7 separate regions of the Homo sapiens genome follow, and all the other regions are linked to region 4. Evidence: promoter capture Hi-C in 16 types of primary human blood cells and fetal thymus (Javierre and others, 2016). All regions are on one chromosome and are shown on one strand. The core of a region is centred on a gene start or on the middle of the fragment in contact, and the rest is flanking DNA. Distances in the headings are between cores, read along the strand shown.

Region 1 (2,700 bases), core at 141-2,640, 2.1 Mb before region 4:
TTCATCTCTAGTTTTTCTTCCTCCACCAGAGAGGGTCTAGTGAATGGCTGTGTTTTCAAATGTTCTGAATAGAACAGAACTTTGAAGAAATAAAAGACAGAGCCAAGATATAGCCGAGCAAAATAAGGAAAAACAAAATCAGGAATGCGTCCACAGCTCCTGATTCTACCGAATACTCTCTCATACAGCCTCGCAAGATACCCTGCTTTTCCACACAGGAAGGTCGCTTTCTTCCTTTCACATTTGATGATTTATTAATCAACCACAGTGCTGCTCAAAGTACACAGAGGGTTCGGAAGAATGAAAGGGAAAAAAGTCAGGGTCTTAATATCAAAGATCTTAACTTCAGAGGGGTGTGTCAACACATATTCCATTTGTGCTATGTGTTGCGAAGCGTAGCAGCACGAGAGAACTCGGGGTCTCTGATCATGATCATTAGTGCTGAGGCATCTAAAAAAGATGAAAATAAATTAAAAGCTATGTAGGTAATCTTAGAACCCCTAGTAAAAAAAAGTCTGTTGTGGAGTAGAAAAATTAAAACGACCGCGAAAATGAGACCTAGGGGATTGAAGTAATGTGCGCTTGTAACATCAGTAATCCCCTCTCCAACGCGGGTCCTGCTTGGGACTGACTCCACCAATCCTTTTAAAAATGAAGACATAAAAGCCATATTCCTTTAAAAAATTTCCACTGCACCGTATTGCAACGTTCGAGCACTGAGGACATTTTCACGTGGTCACAACCCTTTTTAACACCCGGACACTGGGCCGGTCCTTTCTGGCCACGAGGAACTCGCTTCCCTAAAGGAGTACCGCATCACCGAGGGCGGGCGCCTCAGCCCGGGAGGACACTCCCCAGGGTAAACTACAGGCCTCACAAAGCGGAGGGAGCTGGACGCGAAGGCTCGGCAGCGGCGCCGACAGGCTTACCCCAGGCCCACTCTAGGCCGCACAGGGTTCGCGCCACCTCCGGCCCAGGACAGCTCTCAGACGCTGCCAGCGTGGAGCTCGACCCGGCTCACAATGCGCTGGGCCCCGCAGCGTGAGCGCAGGCGCCCGAGAGGCGGCGGGGGTCGGGCGGACGGCGCGCTCCAGCCGAGCCGCCTCCCTCTCTCGGCCCACACCCGCGCGGCCGCCCTTCGCCTGCCGGGGAGCTGCGGGTGGCTGGAGGGCGGGAAGCGACCGGCCAGTCTGCACCTGCATGACCCGGTCGCGCGCCGACCCCTCCCCTCTCTCTCCCGGGCTCAGTCCTCCTTCCTCTTCCGTCCCCCTCCCTTTTCTCCGGGCTGCAACCGGGTTCCGCCCCGCTCGCGCGGCTGCCCGGCCAGCTGTGATGTCACCAGGCCACGCCCCCTAATATAAATACTGGCGTCGCTGGCGCCGCCTTCTCACACTTTCAGGCTCTGATCGCGGCCGCAGTTTTTCCTTTTTTCTTCTGCCGTCGCCTTCTCTGCCTCTTCTCATCCTTTCTCGCTCTGCTGCTCTGCAGTGTGACGAGTCCGAATCCTCTTCCCACCCAGCCCGCGCCTTTCTTCTTTTGCCTGCGCTGTTCTATTTCTCCTTCGGCCGCCGCCGCCACTGCTGCACACAGCTGGTGTCGGTGCCGCGCTTTTACCCCCAAGTCGTTCCCGCAGCCTATGGCCCAGGCCGCCTTGGGTATTTCTGCTCAAGGTAACCACATCCCTCTTTAAAAATTCCGCCGAAAAAGAGAAGACGCTTTACCCGACTCTTTGGGCCGTTATCTCACGTGAGTACCGAGCCGAGGAGCGCGGGAGGGGCCAGGACGCGGGGCTGGCCTTGGGGGGCGGCTGGGGGGCTCCGGCTGGGCCCCGCCGCCCTTAAGACGTCCCCGCAGCGCCCCGCGGCCGGCCGCCTCGAACATGGCGGCGGCGGCTGTCTGTGCCCCCGGCGGCGGCGGCGGCGGCGGGGCTGGGCGGCGGGCCGCGCCTCAGGACCTTCGGGCGGCTGCTGGACGCTTGGCGGAGCCGGAGCCGCAGCAGTTGGGGCGAGGGGGCGTGTGCCAGTGGGGGAGCGCGCGGGGGTCTCGCCGCCGGGGGTCGCCGTCCCCTCCTGGCGGCGTGCGGCCCCCACCCCTCTCCCGTGGTGCATTGCTGTTTCCGGGGAGGGGGCCCGGCCGCAGCCCTGAGGGGCCGGGGTCCCGCAGCCCCTACTCCGCGGTGCGCCGCCGCCACCTTTGCCTCCCGAAGCCCGGCGGGCGGGCGGCGCTGTGGGCTGCAACGGCTGGGGTCCTGGTTATGAATGGAGCGGGGCGGGCCCCGCGCCGGCCTCTGGTGACAGCTGCGGAGGAAGTCGGATTCCTGGGGGGCGCGGGGAGCGCGGTCCCCCTCTGGTGGAGGAAAGTTGACGCCACTTGGGGCCTGGCGGCGGGGAAGCCCCGGTGTCAGGTAGCCAGCGAGAGGCTTTTGGCCCCTTCTGGAAGCCTCGAGGCTGCTGCTCCGCCCCTGCGGCGCTCCTGATTGGGTCAAGTCGCCTTCACTCACCCCAGTCACCTCCTGGAGCCTGAGGATTAGTCACCATGGCTTCGTTTTTCCGTCCGCGCCATGGTTCCTAGGCAGAAAGAGGGAGATTGGTAGACGGGTGGCTTATCAACTACTGTCTTGACTGCCAACAGTTGGTGGTGGTAACATGTTCTAACCCTTACACGGTATCCTGAATGTGTGTTTCGTAGACAAAGCTGCTG
Region 2 (2,700 bases), core at 158-2,657, 2.7 Mb before region 4:
TTAAAAAAGATGACTGAAACGCACTGAGATTTGCAAGGGTGAATACTAAACCACTTGTGGGAAACGTAGTGACTGACTAAAGTGGCAAGGAAGGTGGGACCAGAGATTCAAGGACTGGGAACGATGCCAAATCCAAGTGACAAATCTAATTTATATTTTAGAAACATTACTGCCTTGTGACAAACTGTAAACATCTTTTGAGCAGAGACTTATTAGCAATGCTCACACACATGTTGATAATATCTCCTACTCAACCAAAATAGTGAAATACTGTTTTCGCCTCATCTCATCTCGCTTACTCCTCATTCAAACTAATGACACAGCCCTTCTTTCTATGCCTTAGGTTCATTCCTGCCTGAAGACCTTTGCTCCTGTTATTCTCTTTATTTAGAACAATCTGCTTACGCATGGTTGGTCCCTTGTCATTTAGGTATCACAAAGTACAATTTATAAGTGGTTAGCATGTTAACGGGGGAACAGACCAGGAAGGATAAATTAATTTCATTTAACCATTCTTTCATCAAACTTCTTAAGGGATGGTAAGAGAAAACTGATGCTTTTAAATTCATCTTTGTCTCTTCCAACATCCACAACTAATGTGAAGTAGTAAAGCGGCAAGAAGAGCAGTAGGAAGGTTTTAAAAGCCTGTTTAACTCTCAGCCCTTCAACCCACGAGTTTGGCTCATTCAAGTCCACTTTTCAGTAATAGGAACCTGAAGACAATCCCAGAGCAGCAGCTGGAATTTTTCTCCACTATAGACAACTGTTTCCCACTCACCACTAGAGGAAATTCTTAGAAAAAGGACTTGAACAGACTTTACTTGCTATCCATCCAGTTCCGCAGCGACTCCGTAAGCACAAAGTTTGCCTTAGCGAAAGGTAACTGAGAAAGAACCAGACCAGAGTGCCAGCCTCCCCCGGCTTTACTCCGCGAAAGCCGAGGCTAGACCCAACGACTTGCGGAAACCGTCCCTTTCTCCCTACCAACTTATCTTACCTCTCTGTAAGTCCAACTTGGTTTCGCGGACATAATTGTCCGGATTCCGGCTCAGCATCTTCACCTTCATCTCGGTTGCTCTTCCGGCCGGACTCCACGAGGTGTCCGCTAGGAGTTCCGCCCACCGCCACCTCCTCCCACAGGCGACTTCCGCTTTTCCCAGACTACTTCCAGTCACGTGACTCGCGGAGCGGCGGCCTGCTGGCTCAACTGGATCCTGCGCCGCTCCGTAGTTTTGCCGGCAAACGTTAGCAAGGGGCGGTTCTTTAGCTGTGCAGTCGCTTCCGCGTCCGTGGGCTGGAGCATTTGTGGGCGAGGCAGGGCGGAGACTCGGGAGAGGCTGGGACCTCCCCTCCATCGCGCTTTCCGCCGGCGTGACGTAGTGTCTGTGCCCCGTTCTTGCCCCCTCAGTACTAGAGTCTCCGGCTTCGCTCACGCGCCTTGGGCATAAGAGTCCTCTCGTTGGTCCCGGAGGTGGGGTTGCGCTCACAAGGGGCGACCGTCGCCACGGTGGCGGCCACTGCATCGCGTCCCACCTCCGCGGCCCTGGGCGCCGTGGTGTCGACGGGCCCCGAGCCTATGACGGGCCAGGGCCAGTCGGCGTCCGGGTCGTCGGCGTGGAGCACGGTATTCCGCCACGTCCGGTATGAGAACCTGATAGCGGGCGTGAGCGGCGGCGTCTTATCCAACCTTGCGCTGCATCCGCTCGACCTCGTGAAGATCCGCTTCGCCGGTAAGAGCCCGCCCAGACACCGGGCTGCATCCTCTCACTGTCAGCCCGAACTGGATCTCCTCCGTCTTTTCCGTTCTAGGGGGAGGAGGAGCGTTGAAGGGAGCGTTGCTGTCCGCGTTGGCTAACCTGAACTAGATTTGAGGAAATGGTGCTTGGTGGAGGGGTCGGCCTGCGATCTTCCCCGCTCCTCAAGACTAAGAGAGGGGGCATGTATGTAGAGAAGTCTGAGAAAAAACATCCTCATTGGCAGAGAAGATGGGATTCAAAGCCTGATTTGTAAAATAAAGAAGGGATTGTCACATTTTAAGGTTTAGTCCTCACACGTGCAAATCATTCACTCTTGGAGGAACTTTGAAATCTTAGCATACCCACGTGGTTTGGCAGCTCGACTAGTATTGGGATAGGGCGTAATCTTCAGCGAATGGTTGGGAGTAGATTTAGAATAGAATTCTCTTGAATGTTTGTTTTTTGGCATTTGTAGAATGGTACAAGTTTCTGTGAAAAAATAGCTAGAATCGAAATACTATTTTAAGTGTATTAGATGAATTGAGTATGTTGAAATTAACAAAGCATTTTAGAAGTTAAACTCAACACTAAAGTCTGGAAAGAGTTTCAAAGATGATCTTTGATAACTGAAATTGCAGAAAATAGTTTCCAAATAAAGTTATTACAAGTTAAGTTCAGCCTTGAGAATTAAATCTACAGAAGTTGTTTATTTTAGCATTAGGCAATTCAGTTCACTTGATTTATATTCTCTTAATATTTGTAGACTGCTGTATGGGCTACAGAAGTATCTAATAAAGTTCTTGCCTTCAGGGAACTTAGAATTTAATTGTAGGCGTTAGACTTAGTCATATAAAAGGTAATTCTAGACAACATAAAATCAAGAAATACAAAAACAAAATATAAATACAGGTAAACCGTTAAGAAAATTCTACATTACTGATGGCCATGTGTATCTTTAAGGTTC
Region 3 (2,805 bases), core at 150-2,649, 2.1 Mb before region 4:
TTGGAAATGTTATTGATAACTATGTTTATGAACATACCCTGGTAAGTGCCATTTCTCAAATACAGTGTTTGTCATTTTCCAAGCTCTGAAACGAGTGCTTTTTAATTTCCAAGATGGTAATCTGATCAGAAGTACTTGGTTCATATGCTATCTGATTTAACTTGACCTTCCTCCCCCACACCCACTCCCCTTGAGTAGTGATCCATTTTTCTTTCCAATCCACATTATTTTAAAATCCTCCCTATGGCCCTTTACCTTCTATGCCTTTTAGCATCTGGCACCCACATATGTTCTGTTTATTCTGTTGATGTGATGCCAGCCAACCTTCTAATCAGTACATGGCTTCTTACTCATTTTTCTCAATTTTCTTTTTTTTTTTTTTTTTTGGAGACGAGTCTCACGCTGTCGCCCAGGCTGGAGTGCAGTGGCGTGATCTTGGCTCACGTGCAACCCTCGCCTCCTGGGCTCAAGCAGTTCTCTCTCAGCCTCCTGAATTAGCTAGAATTACAGGCGCACACCACCACACCCGGCTAATTTTTGTATTTTAGTAGAGACGAGGTTTCGCCATGCTGGTCTTGAACTCCTGACCTCAGGTGATCTACCCACCTCAGCCTCCTGAAGTGCTGGGATTACAGGCACGAGCCACCGCGCCCAGCCTCAATTCTTTTTTTTTGCTTGCTTGTTTGAGATGGATTCTTACACTGTTGCCCAGGCTGGAGTTCAGTGGCACGATCTCAGCTCACTGTGACCTCTGCCTCCTGCGTTCAAGCAATTGATTTAGGATCCTTATGCCTCAGCCTCCCGAGTAGCTGGGATTACAGGTCTGTGCCACCATGCCCAGCTAAGTGGTTTTTTTTTTGTTTTTTGTTTTTTGTTTTTTTTTTTGAGATGGAGTCTCCCTCTGTATCCCAGGCTGGAGGGCAATGGCAGTATCTCGGCTCACTGCAACCTCCGCCTCCCAGGTTCAAGCGATTCTCCTGCCTCAGCCTCCCAAGTAGCTGGGATTACAGGCGCCCGCCACCATGCCCAGCTAATTTTTTGTATTTTTAGTAGAGGTGGGGTTTCACCATGTTGGCCAGGCTGGTCTCGAACTCCTGACCTGAGGTGATCCGCCCACCTTGGCCTCCCAAAGGGCTGGGATTACAGGCGTGAGCCACTGCGCCTGGCCTAAGTTTTTGTATTTTTAGTAGATGGGGTTTTGCCATGTTGGCCAGGCTGGTATTGAACGCCTGACCAACATGTGATCTGCCCGCCTCAGCCTCCCAGAGTGTTGGATTAACAGGCGTGAGCCACTGTGCCTGGTCTCAGTTGTATTCTTCAGTGGATATTAATTTACTTTCAGATAATTTTGGTTGTGTATGTTCATTGAGAATTTGATAATTTATCCTGAGTACTTACTCTCTGCTGCTCTAGGAGTCAACTTCTACAGAATCATATACTCACTGCTACTTAAGGTGATTTTCTTTTTTTTTTTCTCTTTGAGACGAAGTTTCACTCTTGTTGCCCAGGCTGGAGCGCAGTGGTGCGATCTCAACTCACTACAACCTCGGCCTCCCTGGTTCAAGCGATTCTCCTGCCTTAGCCTCCCAAGTAGCTGGGATTACAGGCGCCCAGCACCAGGCCCAGCTGATTTTTGTATTTTTAGTAGAGACAGGGTTTCACCGTGTTGACCAGTCTGGTCTCAAACTCCTGACCTCAGGTGATCCACCCACCTTGGCCTCCCAAAGTGCTGGGATTACAGGCGCGAGCCACCGCGCCCAGCCTGGTCTTTTTTTTTTTTTTTTTTATATATATATATATTAGACTTAACTGATACAATCTTTCTTTATTGGAGGAAATTTCCTGTATTCAACCAAACTTGTTAGATAATTGTTTTCATGTTACCGGTGTTCAGTAATTGAATATCCAAAATTTTCTCCTTCTCTTGACCTTAAGTCTGCAGACGTGTTCATCTTCCCCTCATCCTAGCAAAAATCCCTTTGTCTTCCTCTGCCATTCAACTTGTTAAAACTTGACATATTGGTCATGAAACTTGTCATATTGGTCAACCAATTTCTGCCAAGCCATTCTTCAGTTGCCACTGGGAAGCTCCTAGTCAAATTCTGATGATCATTTTTATCACTTAACTTTATTCTTCTGACTTTTTGCAACACTTTTCGGGGGTCAGATATAATCTTTGAAATATTCCTTCCATCCCACATCTAAATTAACCCACGTTTAGTAGCATTCAATGAGGATTACTCCTCAACCCCATTCTTTTCTGGCTCTGGGGTGACACTTCTGTGTTCTCTAAGTCATTCAGTCCACCTTTTGTTTGTCCTCTCTTATTTAACCTTGGTCTTGCCTTCATAACATCCTGGTATTCATCTCCTCCATTCCCACTATCTATCCGTCTTTGCACATGTCATTATAGTGACCTCCTAACTTATTTCCCTTTTCATCGTCCTATTGTTTGCCCAAGCCTGCTTAATTTTGTTGAATATTCATTAAATACAAGGCTTCCCTGCTCCCTAAATTTGTTTTTCGTTGCCTACTGAGAATTTTCCAGACTCACATCATGCCTAAGAAAGGAAGCTGAATACCTTGTTGTTTCATCCCATTTCTCTTGTGGTTCCCGTAAATACCTTATTTTTTCCCAAATTAAATATAAACTTTGTGTCTCCGGAATACCATAGATATCATATCTTGGGAGGATGGATAACTTAATACAACTGTTAAAATTCTGCTGCACATAATGTGCGTTTTGCATTTATATCAGTTGGGCACTATATTCTAATGACATTTTCAAATACTGTGAATTAAAGA
Region 4 (2,764 bases), core at 194-2,693:
TTAAGGAATAAATTGGGCAATCATTTAACTTCTTTGAGACTGTTCCTGTAACAGTAAAGTAAAATTATTACTACTTGCTCCACCTCCCACACCAGATTGCTCTCAGGAACAAATGATAGTATGTTTACGCGAGTGCTTTAAAAACTGTAAAAGCACTTTACTACTTTCGAGTGGAATTTGTATGTTGATTTAATGTCATTCCTAGAGCCGGTTTTTATTACTATCAATTCGTTAAATTTAGCATTCCTATTAAAACCCACTACTAATGTGCAGAATTGTTTTAGTTATTTATAAGGACGTTGTTTTAGACTATTCCTAATTTTGTCTGGTTGCAGGGCTGTGGTGCCATATAGTAGTGATTGTGACAAACCCGTACTTTCAGGAAAAACATTCACTTTTCTCCACTCCTGGTTTCTATCGCCAAGAAATGTCTGGCAGAAGCAGCACAAATCAATGATTCCAGCCTAGCACCTTAAGGTAAGAAGTGACCAAAGACCCCCAACACAGCTATCCCAAATTAAAGCCACTTTGACCAACGACAACGTCCAGTGAAGACACGGAGGAGGGTCGGGCTGGAAAAGAAGAGGACGAGGAACCCGAGGGGCCCTCCCCTCTCTCTCCCTGCCCCCCAACCCCGCGCCGGGAGCTCCAGCGGTGCCGGGGTCCAGCGCGCAGGACGGTTGGGGGGTCCCGGAGCGGGCGGCCAGGACCCGCGCAGCCAGTTGGTGTCAGCGAGCGCCGCGGCCGTTGGGGACTCCAGCTCCCAGCAGGCACCGCTTCTGCGGCCGACGCGCGTGGCGGCGGTGCCGGCTGGGACTCGTAGTGCGGTCCGGGTAGGAGAGAGCAGGGGGCCACGCTGGCTCCATCTACGCACGTTTCGGAAACCGGGCCCGGAGGGGACCACGCCCGCTCACCCGTGCCCGGCGTCCCCCGGAGCTGGGGCTAGAGGAGCCGGGCCGGCCGCAGCGGGAAGAGGCCACAGGCGGCCGCGCACGTGGGGGGTGGTTAGCGCGGAGGAACCCGGAAGCCCTTTGCACCGCCCACCGCCGCGGTGACGGGTTAACGCTCCTCCTGGTGGAGGCAGGGGCGGGCGGGGCGGAAGGCGGGGACGCCTCAGCCAACACCCCCGAGGACCGCCCGCGAGCCGTCCTCCCCACCCCCACGGACGCGACGCAGCGCGGGCTCCGCTTCCCCGGCCGCGGCGCCTGCGCAAAAGCCCCGCCCCTTCGCCCGAGCCCCACCCCCACACCGCAGCCTCCACCGCCGCCACCTCTCCCTTCCTCTCTGCTCTTTCCTCCTGTTTTCTCTTCCCTCCTCCCCCTGGCCTCCGCGTCTCCTCCTACTCCGGCGCTGACGCTCGCGTAGGGGCCCTGGCGTCAGACGCGCGGGGGCGGGGCGAGTGCGGCGCGGGGTATAAGTAGAGGGTGCAGGAGGCGGTGCTTCCCCTTCTCCCCGGCGGTTAGTGCTGAGAGTGCGGAGTGTGTGCTCCGGGCTCGGAACACACATTTATTATTAAAAAATCCAAAAAAAATCTAAAAAAATCTTTTAAAAAACCCCAAAAAAATTTACAAAAAATCCGCGTCTCCCCCGCCGGAGACTTTTATTTTTTTTCTTCCTCTTTTATAAAATAACCCGGTGAAGCAGCCGAGACCGACCCGCCCGCCCGCGGCCCCGCAGCAGCTCCAAGAAGGAACCAAGAGACCGAGGCCTTCCCGCTGCCCGGACCCGACACCGCCACCCTCGCTCCCCGCCGGCAGCCGGCAGCCAGCGGCAGTGGATCGACCCCGTTCTGCGGCCGTTGAGTAGTTTTCAATTCCGGTTGATTTTTGTCCCTCTGCGCTTGCTCCCCGCTCCCCTCCCCCCGGCTCCGGCCCCCAGCCCCGGCACTCGCTCTCCTCCTCTCACGGAAAGGTCGCGGCCTGTGGCCCTGCGGGCAGCCGTGCCGAGATGAACCCCAGTGCCCCCAGCTACCCCATGGCCTCGCTCTACGTGGGGGACCTCCACCCCGACGTGACCGAGGCGATGCTCTACGAGAAGTTCAGCCCGGCCGGGCCCATCCTCTCCATCCGGGTCTGCAGGGACATGATCACCCGCCGCTCCTTGGGCTACGCGTATGTGAACTTCCAGCAGCCGGCGGACGGTGAGCGCCGGGCTCCGCGGTCGGCCGGGCGGGCGGGCGGCCATGAGGCTCGGGCGGCGGCGGCGGGCGGGGTAGGCCGGCGGGCCCGGGGAGGGGGGCGGGAGGGCATGTCACCCCGCGACGGCCGGCGGGAAGGCGCCGGGGTCCCTGGAGCCGCGTTTCCCGAGCCGGCGGGGACCCGCGCTGCCGGCAGCCACACGCCCGGCTACTTCCTCCTTTGCGACCATTTTCTCGGCCTCAGACGCTCTCAAACTTTAGGGTGATGACGCGCCGGGAGGGTGGGTGAGATTCGGTTCCTCCGCGGCGCTCCCGCCAGTGGCCCCGGGATTCTGGGGCGTTGAACGCTGAGCTCCTTCCGTGGGTAAGAGGTGGAGGCGCTCCCACCACCCGGAGCTCCTGCCGGCGCCCCAGCCTGGGGAGGAAGTGCAGTTCTGTGCTCGAAAAATACCACGTGTTGAACCCTGTAACCTCGCAGGCCCGAGGCCTGCTTCTGCTCCTGCTCCTGGCCCAGTCGCCTGGGGGAGCCACCAGGCCTTAGGATAAAGTTCCTGTGGCGATGTGTGGTGTGGTGGTGGTCCTCAGGCTTGTGAGTCCACTTCCCAGAACTCATCAGTGACTGATGGA
Region 5 (2,925 bases), core at 230-2,729, 2.6 Mb after region 4:
GGATTATGGGCATTACAATTCCAGATGAGGTTTGGGCAAGGACACAGCCAAGCCATATCAGAAGTGGACCCTCAAAAGTATATCCTTAATTGATCCTCCAATAAGCAGTGACTAATCTTGTCTGAAGATGACTACTTATGTTTTTAAAAGTGCTCTTGAAATTGCATTTTTTTGCTTTACAGCTATATTGAGGTATAAGTTACTTATAAAAGTTACCCATTTTAATGGCTGGGTGTGGTGGCCCACGACTGTAATCCCAGCACTTTGGGAAGCGGAGGCAGGCGGATCACCTGAGGTCAGGAGTTCAAGACCAGCCTGGCCAACATGGCAAAACCCCATCTCTACTAAAAATGCAAAAATTAGCTGGGCGTGGTGGCTCACACCTGTAATCCCAGCTACTTGGGAGGCTGAGGCAGAATTGTTTGAACCCGGGAGGCGGAGGTTGCAGTGAGCCAAGATTGTGCCACTGCACTCCAGCCTGGGTGACAGAGTGAGACTCCATCTCAAAAAAACAAGTCACCCATTTTAATTAAGTGTAGTGTTCCATGAGTTTTAGTAAATGTATAGAATCATGCATCCACTATAATAGTCAAATTTTAGAATATTTCTATCACTCCCAAAAAATTCCCTTGTACCCATTTATGATCACCCCTGGCCCTAGACAACAATTAATAATCTGCTGCTGCTATTTTCTTTTCTAAGGTTTCATTTAAGTGAAATAAGACAATATATAGTCCTTTGTTGGATCTATCAGTGGGTGCATGTGTGTGTGTCTTGCTTTTTTGCTATAAATAATGCTATTCTGAACATTCACGTAAACTCTTTGGACATATGTTTTCATTTCTCTTGGATAGTTGCCTAGGAAAGAAATTGCTGAGTTGAGGCTCAAGCCTGTAATCCCAGCACTTTGGGAGGCCAAGGCAGGAGGATCACTTGAGTCCAGGAGTTTGAGACCAGCCTAGGCAACATAGCAAGACCTCATCTCTACAAAAAATAAAAATAAGTAAATAATAAAATAAAAAATTAGCCAGGCATGGTGGTGCACACCTTTAGTCTCAGCTACTTAGGAGGCTGAGATGGGAGGATCACTTGGGCCTGGGAGGTCAAGGCTTCAGTGAGCCAACATCCTACCACTGCACTTCAGCCTGGGTGACAGAGCAAGATCCTGTCTCTAAAAGAAGAGTTTGCTGGGTTGTATGTTAAATATATGTTTAAATTTTTAAAGAAACTGCCAAACTATTTTCTAAAGTGGCTGTACCATTTTGCATTACTACCGACAATGTATGAGGGTTGCTCCCCATCATTGCCAATGCTTACTTTATCAGTGATGTCTTAGTGTGTGGTTTTGCTTTGCATTTCTCTAATGACTACTAATGTTGAGCAAATTTCATGTACTCTAACTCTTTGTATATTTTCTTTTGTGAAGTATCATTTGCTCATATTTTATTGGGTTTGTCTTCACATTATTGACTTTTAAGAGTTCTTCTTATATTCTGGATATAGGTACTTTATTAGGTATATGTTTTGCAAATATTTTTCTCCCAATCTATGACTTGCCTTTTCTTCCCCCGACCCCTTTTTTTATTTTGGGTCTTTCTCTGTTACTCAGTGCCACTGAGGCTGGAGCGCAGTGGTATACTCATGGCTCACTTCAGCCTTCAACTCCTGGGCTCAAGCAATTCAATCACCCTAGCCTCCTGAGTAGCTGGGACTACGGGTGTGCGTCACCATACTTGGCTGTTTTTTATTGTTTTTTGTAGAGACTGAGTGGTTGCCCAGGCTGATCTCAAACTCCTGGTCCCAAGCGATCCTCCTGCTTCACCCTCCCAAAGCACTAGGATTACAGCACCCAGCCCCTTTTCATTTTCTTAAAGATATCTTTGATAAACAAAAGTTTTCAATTTTCATGAAGTCCAATGTATCTGTTTTTTTTTTTTTACAATTTATACTTCTCTGTCCTATCAAAAAAGTCTTCTAGCATTGAATTTTATGTTTTATACTTACATAAATACACTAGCTTTCTGTTTATTGCAGTCAAGCTGTATTAGTCGACAGGACCATTTACATTTCAGGACAGATAGGCATGGACCCTTCAAGTGGACAGCTTGTGTCAGGAGGGGTAGCAGAAGAAGCTAAACAAGTAAGTTATTTTCCACATTTAAGGTTCCCTTTTCTACTACCTTTTTAATGTTGAAGAGCATTAAGAATCCACTTGCCTGATTTGTTTTATAGAGATTAACAGATAAATGTTTTTTAAACTACTTACTGCTTGATTTAACATAGTTTTTGATCTAAGAGTTGGAAATTTGATGGATCATGAATCATCTAACAACCAAAAGAGAGATTCCACCTCCTTAACACTAAGGTGACCTTAAACCTGAATTATTGACGTCAGATGACATGTTGCCACTTCCACATGGATTGGGAAATTTTCTTCTCAGGGCCACTGACCTGCCCCTCTTCAAAAAAAAAAAAAAATTACCACCACAGAAGTAAAAAGTCAACATTTTTAAAAATAAGAATGGGGAATATAATTTTAATCCAATAAATATAATTAAACCATAATTTAGGCCAGGCACGATGTGGCTCACACCTGTAATCCTAGCACTTTGGGAGGCCGAGGCTGGCAGATCACTTGAGGTCAGGAGTTCAAGACTAGCCTAGACAACATGGTGAAACCCCATCTCTACTAAAAATACAAAAATTAGTTGGGGGAGGCCAGGCACAATGGCTCACACCTGTAATCCCAGCACTTTGGGAGGCCGAGGCGGGCAGATCACCTGAGGTCAGGAGTTCAAGACCAGCCTGGCCAACATGGTGAAACCCCGTCTCTACTGAAAATACAAAAATTAGCCAGGTGTGGTGGCATGTGCCTGTAGTCCCAGCTACTCGGGAGGCTAAGGCATGAGAATCGTTTGAACCCGG
Region 6 (2,869 bases), core at 4-2,503, 2.3 Mb before region 4:
TGGAAAGTATGAATAAAATAATGTACCTAGACCTTCCCCTTTCCATGCGGCCGCCCTTCCTGCGGATGATTGTATTAGCTGCTGCCCCACCCCATCCTACCTCCCAAGACTCTCCCCCGTATCCCAGATGAGAAATATCCTTTGCTTACTTATACTTTATAAATGCCCCTACTACGCACTCATCGTATTCTCCCTCATTTTTATAACATATTTTCCTCTCCACCTTACTGAGAAATCCTGAAGAGCTAGAATCATATCTTCTTCTCTGTGAAACCCTGAGAGCCAGAATACACTAAATTCCTGGCAATAGCAGGGACTTAATAAATGCCTGTTGAATTAATAAATAAAATTCAAATTCAAATACAACAATGATGGAACCAATCAAAACGTCTGATTTAGAGATAAACGCAAAAAAAATCATGTTTTTTAAAAGTGTTTTTTAGTCTTCCAGAAAACCCTTATTTTACAGTAAAAATTAAAAATTGGTAGAGTTGCAGGTTCCTAAGTAAGCCTTTGTCTTTTATGTCAAGGGTGAATAAAGTCAAAAATATAAAAAAGAGGGTTTGATAAAGAACCTATCTGTACTTCAGGCAAAGCCATGGCCTCAGTTCTTCTACCCCTCGTCAAAGCAAACTAACTCTAAGTAAAGAGCCTAACAGGAAAGACAAGCTACTTAAGTACCTAAGGAGGAATGTAACAACTTCCTATGACAGTTAACATCATAAGTATTTTGCAAAATCTGTTTTTTCCATTTTTAAACTATGACCGCTCTCAACTTGTCACTTACACAAGTCAGGTAAAAAAATTTCTCCTTGAGGCCAGGCACAGTGGCTCACACCTGTAATCCCAGCACTTTGGGAGGCTGAGGCAGGCAGATCACCTGAGATCAAGAGTTCAAGACCTGCCTGCCCAACATGACAAAACCATGTCTTTACTAAAAATACAAAAAAATTAGCCAGGCATGGTGGCATGCGCCTGTAATCCCAGCTACTCGGGAGGCTGAGGCAAGAGAATCACTTGAACCCTGGAGGCAAAGGTTGCAGTGAGCCAAGATGGAGCCACTGCACCCTAGCCTGGGTGACAGACCAAGACTTCATCTCAAAAAAAAAAAAAAAAATTATCCTTGAAATTTAAGAACAATTTAAGTTTAGTTTCAAACAAAATTTATCTTTGCAGATGAATATGTATGTCTTTATTCATCGGAAAATGGAATCCATATTGCTAAACATATTTCCCTTTTTCTCTCAGCTGCAAGGAAACAAATTGTCAAAATTAGTGGCCATTTGTTATCAACTTGCCAAGAACCTGACACCACCTTCTCCACTGCTTGTTTTTACTCGTAATTATTTCCCTTTATTTTATCTTGAATACGAAGGAAGTCAGGCCTAAATGTAGCAAAATCATATGCTAAACAGAGGAGATGATGATCAAAAAGGCACCCTGATTAAATCGTAGTTTCTCAAGGCTCAGATCCAGGTCTATGTCCTTCTTCTCTTTCTGCGTGTGTGTGAATGTGTGTGTATAGCACCTTTCTTGATGATGATCTCTACAGTTGAGGCAATTCTAGTCTAGATGCTGGACACTTTCTGAAATGTATGTCTCCAGCCCAGGGCCCTCTGCAGCATCTAGAGTTGTACTCAACCAGTATCCACATCTGACTACAAGACATTTTCCACCTGAATGTCTCAAAAGCAGCTAAAACCCAACACTTCTAGTCAAACTTATCATCTCTTCCCCAATATGTAGTCCTACTCCACTGTTCCCTGAGTTAGTATAGGTGTACCCCTGCAGTATTAGACAATTAGAACTGTCAAATGTTCATAGCAGCCAACACTTACTGGGCACTTCCTATCTACTAGCACAAGTCAAAACACTTCACGTGTATTAACTCACTTAGTAGTTAGAGAAACCCCATTAGAGGGGTAGTAGTTACAAAGAAACCAGGGCACATAAAGCATCTTATATATTATACAAGGTATATTATGTAGTATGTGTCTCATTATATATCATATGACAGCATATATTATATGCTAAGGATGAATGTATTATATGCTCTCATAGAACCTTCTTTGTAGTATTTCTCTGGGGGTGGGGGAGCACTTTTTACTAGTATCTGTCTTTCAAATAAACTGCCCAGGACGGTAAGTGGAAATCATGATAGTTTTTGCTCACCACTTTATCCTCAGTACCTGGCACAGAGACCAGCATGGTAGAATCTCAGAAGATATTTGCTGAATATTCTTCAATAAAAATTACTGTGAGGATTAAATGAGATAACATCAAGCACCTGGATTATAGTTGGTTAGCTTCCCTCACTTCCCGTTTTTTCTATAAAATCAACTTTATTAAAATATAATTTATATAGAATTAAATGCACCCATTGTAAGAGTTTGATGAGTTTTTGACAAATGTATACACCTGTGTGAGCACTGTCAAAACCAAGATTAAGGACACTTCTATCATCCCCAAACCTTCCCTCACACTCAGTCCAGTCAATCCCTATCTCACTGCCAGCCCTGGGCAAATGTTGGTCTGCTTTCTGTTACTATAGATTAGTTTTGCCTGATCTAGAATTTCCTTGTAAATGGAAGCATGCATTAGATACTCTTTTGTACCTGGCTTTTGCTCAGCAAGTCTTTGATATCTGTCCGTGTTGTATGTATTAGTAGTTCAATCTGTTTTATTACTTAGTATTCTACCACATACATCTACTATAGTCTGTTCATACATTCACCAGTTGATGAACATTTGGATTGTTACTACTGGTTTGGGACCACTAAGAATAGAGATTCTATGAACATTCCTCTACAAAGCTTTTTGTGAAGATATATTTTTCTCTTGGATAAAAAATTCTAAAAGTAGAATTTCT
Region 7 (2,783 bases), core at 217-2,716, 2.1 Mb before region 4:
TTGGGGTACTAAATGGAGAGAAAAAGAACATCTTTCATACGCCTGAACTCCTTTACCTATGTATGTAATTGTCATCAGCTTTAAAAGCAATTCCATTGTTAAGTGGTCTTTCAAACCCTGATTCTACCATGATACTGCTTATGTCTGTCAAAACCCTTTGCAGTTGATTTGTTGATGGCCTGAGAAGATTAGCACTGGATCAGTTATGGGCAATTAAAGAGTTAAGTATCTGCTATTGAGTGACAGATGAAGTGATTGCACATTGGCAGTAGAGCAAAGGGGTTGTGTAGATGTGCTAAAGATACTGCAATATCTTATTTAGATTATTTTTAACCCCAGAGTCCAGCTAACCTTTATTTGTAAATAATGGTGCCCAACTTCATCTGGTGCGTACCTGTGCCTACAACTTTGTCCCCATTCAGTTTTTAGCAGCAATATGCAGAGGAGGGGACACTTGGCTGAAGTTTAAGAATTTTAGTTCTGTGAGTTGATTGGTTTTCTCCCATCTATTTTCTATTTTATGTTTCTCAAATTGCTCTGCTTTCACCAGGTATGGTGGGGTGGAGGATTCTCAGCTCTATTCCAAGCCTTCTGTCTTCCACTTAGGCAATTTTAAACTTCTGAGCCAAGGTTGCAACAATATGTTTTATCGCTAAGAATGTTCTTTTTTCCCTTCATCACTTTGGTCCCCTTTCCTCCAGCTCTGGACAATCTAAATTGTCTTGTTTTTGTTTTGAGACAGGGTCTCACTCTTGGCTCACTGTAACCTCTGCCTCTCGGGTTCAAGTGATTCTCGTGCCTCAGCCTCCCGAGTAGCTGGGATTACAGATGCATCACCACCATGCCTGTCTGGTTTTTGTATTTTTATTAGAGAGGGTTTCACCATGTTGACCAGGCTGGTCTCAAACTCCTGACCTCAGGTGATCCACCTGCCTTGCCCTCCCAAAGTGCTGAGATTACAGACGTGAGCCACTGTGCCCTGCCTAAATTGTCTTGTTTTATAATCTGTAAATCTTAACGATTCTAAGCATTCCCTGTATCTGAGTGGGGACTAAAGAGCCAACAGGCAGCTCTGAGTGCATGAGTGCAGTTTGTCGACTGAAAAAATGATCTGTCCCAGCTGATTAGTTAGGGAACTTTGTATGACATATGATTGGTTAGGGAATTTTTATGCCATTATGTCAAGGTCTTAGCTGATTCTCAATCAATTTGTATCGTGCCTGAAGGGTGATAGACCGTCTACCAGCATTCTAGAACCCAGCAGGGTGAGGGTTGGGCCTCTGCTTTCAGTGTAACACACCCCTGCCATCCCAGAGACTGGGCTACCTTTTCTAGAGAATGAACAAATGAGAGAGGGCTGTTGCCCAACTGCGCAGTGTAGGGAAAAGGATCTGGGATTTGAGTGGTTAGACAGATTCATCCAATCCTTATTTTGCCCCCACCTCCAGGGGTTTGGACTGCTGCCAAGTCCTTCATTTTTTTTTTTTTTTGGTTTTTTTTTTTTTTTTAATTTCTGAGTTTTTTTTTGCCCCCACTGCTGGCCTTGGTATTCCATTTCCTGAAGCTGCTAAATTATAAACTAATCTGTCCATTTTCTAGCTTGCTTTTTTTTTTTAATCTCTCGATTTCTCCATCCTGGTGAGTTTCGCTCCTTTTAAATGCCGTTTTAGTTAGGGAAGGAACAAGGATAGGTATGCATTTCCAATCCACCAGTGATTATGTGCCCCTCAATATGTACCACATGCGTAAACCTAATTGTCAAAACAAGGGCCTTTTAGATTTTTGGAGACAATCCAAACTCTCCATCTGCCTCTCGGAACTAAATTTGGGTGGTATTTTAAAGGTACTCTGGTATCAGCACAAGATAATAAGAATAATACATGAAGTTTTATACCTTTTGTGGATTGATGGTACAGGTAACCAACAACCCTTTACCATAGTGATATACAGAAATAGAGTTTTAATTTCTGCATTTAAGTGGTGTGTGTGTGTGTGTGTGTGTGTGTGTGTGTGTGTGTGTGTGTGTGACGGAATCTCGCTCTGTCGCCCAGGCTGGAGTCCAGTGGCACGATCTGGGCTCACTGCAAGCTCCGTCTCCTGGGTTCACACCATTCTCCTGCTTCAGCCTCCTGAGTAGCTGGTACTACAGGTGCCCGCCACCACACCCGGCTAATTTTTTGTATTTTTAGTAGAGACGGGGTTTCACCGTGTTAGCCAGGATGGTCTCAATCTCCTGACCTCGTAATCCGCCCGTCTCGGCCTCCCAAAGTGCTGGAATTATAGGCATGAGCCACCTCGCCCAGCCTATCTTGTTTTCTAAACGTAATGAGTTGGGATGCTTTTAACTTGTAAGTTAGGTAATAGTCTTTGAAACATATATATTCTGTGCTTTTTAAATTTTTATTTAAACAGTTTCTGTCACCAGGCTAGAGGGCAGTGGCGCCATCTCTGCTCACTGCAACCTTTGCCTCCCGGGTTCAAGTAATTCTGTCTCAGTCTCCTGAATAGCCAGGATTAAAGGTGTGTGCCACCACACCCAGCTAATTTTTCTATTTTTGTTTTTTTAGTAGAGAAGGAGTTTTGCCCGGCCATGCACTCCAGCCTGGGTGACAGAGTGAGACTCCGTCTCAAAAAAAAAAAAAAAAAAAAGTTTTGCCATGTTTGGCCAGGCTGGTCTTGAGCTTGTGGCCTCAAATGATAACAAGCATAAGCCACTGTGCCCTGCCTACTCTGTGGTGTTTTTATGTCACAACAAACCTGTCTCAATGCACTCAAGGCATTTT

What was found. Contacts are between HindIII fragments. The CHiCAGO score rates a contact against its expected background, and 5 or more counts as called.
Region 1: the fragment with the promoter of AZIN1 here is called in contact with the fragment with the promoter of PABPC1 in region 4 in 5 of 17 cell types (monocytes, total B cells, fetal thymus and 2 more); the score reaches 14.4 in monocytes.
Region 2: the fragment with the promoter of SLC25A32 here is called in contact with the fragment with the promoter of PABPC1 in region 4 in 2 of 17 cell types (neutrophils and monocytes); the score reaches 11.0 in neutrophils.
Region 3: a contact is called between a fragment that was not itself captured here and the fragment with the promoter of PABPC1 in region 4, in 3 of 17 cell types (fetal thymus, monocytes and neutrophils). The highest score is 7.7, in fetal thymus.
Region 5: a contact is called between a fragment that was not itself captured here and the fragment with the promoter of PABPC1 in region 4, in 1 of 17 cell types (neutrophils). The highest score is 6.7, in neutrophils.
Region 6: a contact is called between a fragment that was not itself captured here and the fragment with the promoter of PABPC1 in region 4, in 1 of 17 cell types (monocytes). The highest score is 6.1, in monocytes.
Region 7: a contact is called between a fragment that was not itself captured here and the fragment with the promoter of PABPC1 in region 4, in 2 of 17 cell types (monocytes and total B cells). The highest score is 7.4, in monocytes.

What each region holds. Positions count from the first base shown.
Region 1 is chr8:102,862,853-102,865,552 of GRCh38, reverse strand. AZIN1 (antizyme inhibitor 1) reads left to right here and starts at 1,390. Exons shown (of 12, transcript NM_148174.4): 1 at 1,390-1,746. MAILR (macrophage interferon regulatory lncRNA) reads right to left here and starts at 1,282. Exons shown (of 3, transcript NR_126339.1): 1 at 930-1,282. RefSeq lists enhancers at 312-1,044, 2,513-2,700 and silencers at 924-1,273, 1,934-2,163. The HindIII fragment of the contact is 10,250 bases long and covers 1-2,700 here.
Region 2 is chr8:103,413,814-103,416,513 of GRCh38, reverse strand. SLC25A32 (solute carrier family 25 member 32) reads left to right here and starts at 1,407. Exons shown (of 7, transcript NM_030780.5): 1 at 1,407-1,730. The coding sequence starts at 1,577. It overlaps DCAF13 (DDB1 and CUL4 associated factor 13), which reads right to left and starts at 1,128. Exons shown (of 11, transcript NM_015420.7): 1 at 998-1,128. The coding sequence starts at 1,067. RefSeq lists enhancers at 1,047-1,386, 1,120-1,741. The HindIII fragment of the contact is 9,226 bases long and covers 1-2,700 here.
Region 3 is chr8:102,840,787-102,843,591 of GRCh38, reverse strand. It overlaps AZIN1 (antizyme inhibitor 1), which reads left to right. Exons shown (of 12, transcript NM_148174.4): 3 at 1-41. Among named protein-coding and RNA genes, the nearest start is that of AZIN1, 22 kb to the left of the region's middle. The HindIII fragment of the contact is 4,465 bases long and covers 1-2,805 here.
Region 4 is chr8:100,720,767-100,723,530 of GRCh38, reverse strand. PABPC1 (poly(A) binding protein cytoplasmic 1) reads left to right here and starts at 1,443. Exons shown (of 15, transcript NM_002568.4): 1 at 1,443-2,140. The coding sequence starts at 1,948. RefSeq lists enhancers at 316-816, 817-1,317, 1,372-2,204 and silencers at 607-1,316, 1,397-1,476, 2,157-2,266. The HindIII fragment of the contact is 6,173 bases long and covers 1-2,764 here.
Region 5 is chr8:98,107,861-98,110,785 of GRCh38, reverse strand. RIDA (reactive intermediate imine deaminase A) reads left to right here. Exons shown (of 6, transcript NM_005836.3): 2 at 2,035-2,140. Among named protein-coding and RNA genes, the nearest start is that of RIDA, 7.8 kb to the left of the region's middle. The HindIII fragment of the contact is 5,866 bases long and covers 1-2,925 here.
Region 6 is chr8:103,032,818-103,035,686 of GRCh38, reverse strand. The region is part of intron 1 of ATP6V1C1 (ATPase H+ transporting V1 subunit C1); the gene reads right to left. Among named protein-coding and RNA genes, the nearest start is that of ATP6V1C1, 13 kb to the right of the region's middle. The HindIII fragment of the contact is 3,124 bases long and covers 1-2,815 here.
Region 7 is chr8:102,821,415-102,824,197 of GRCh38, reverse strand. No RefSeq gene overlaps it. Among named protein-coding and RNA genes, the nearest start is that of GASAL1, 16 kb to the right of the region's middle. The HindIII fragment of the contact is 2,997 bases long and covers 1-2,783 here.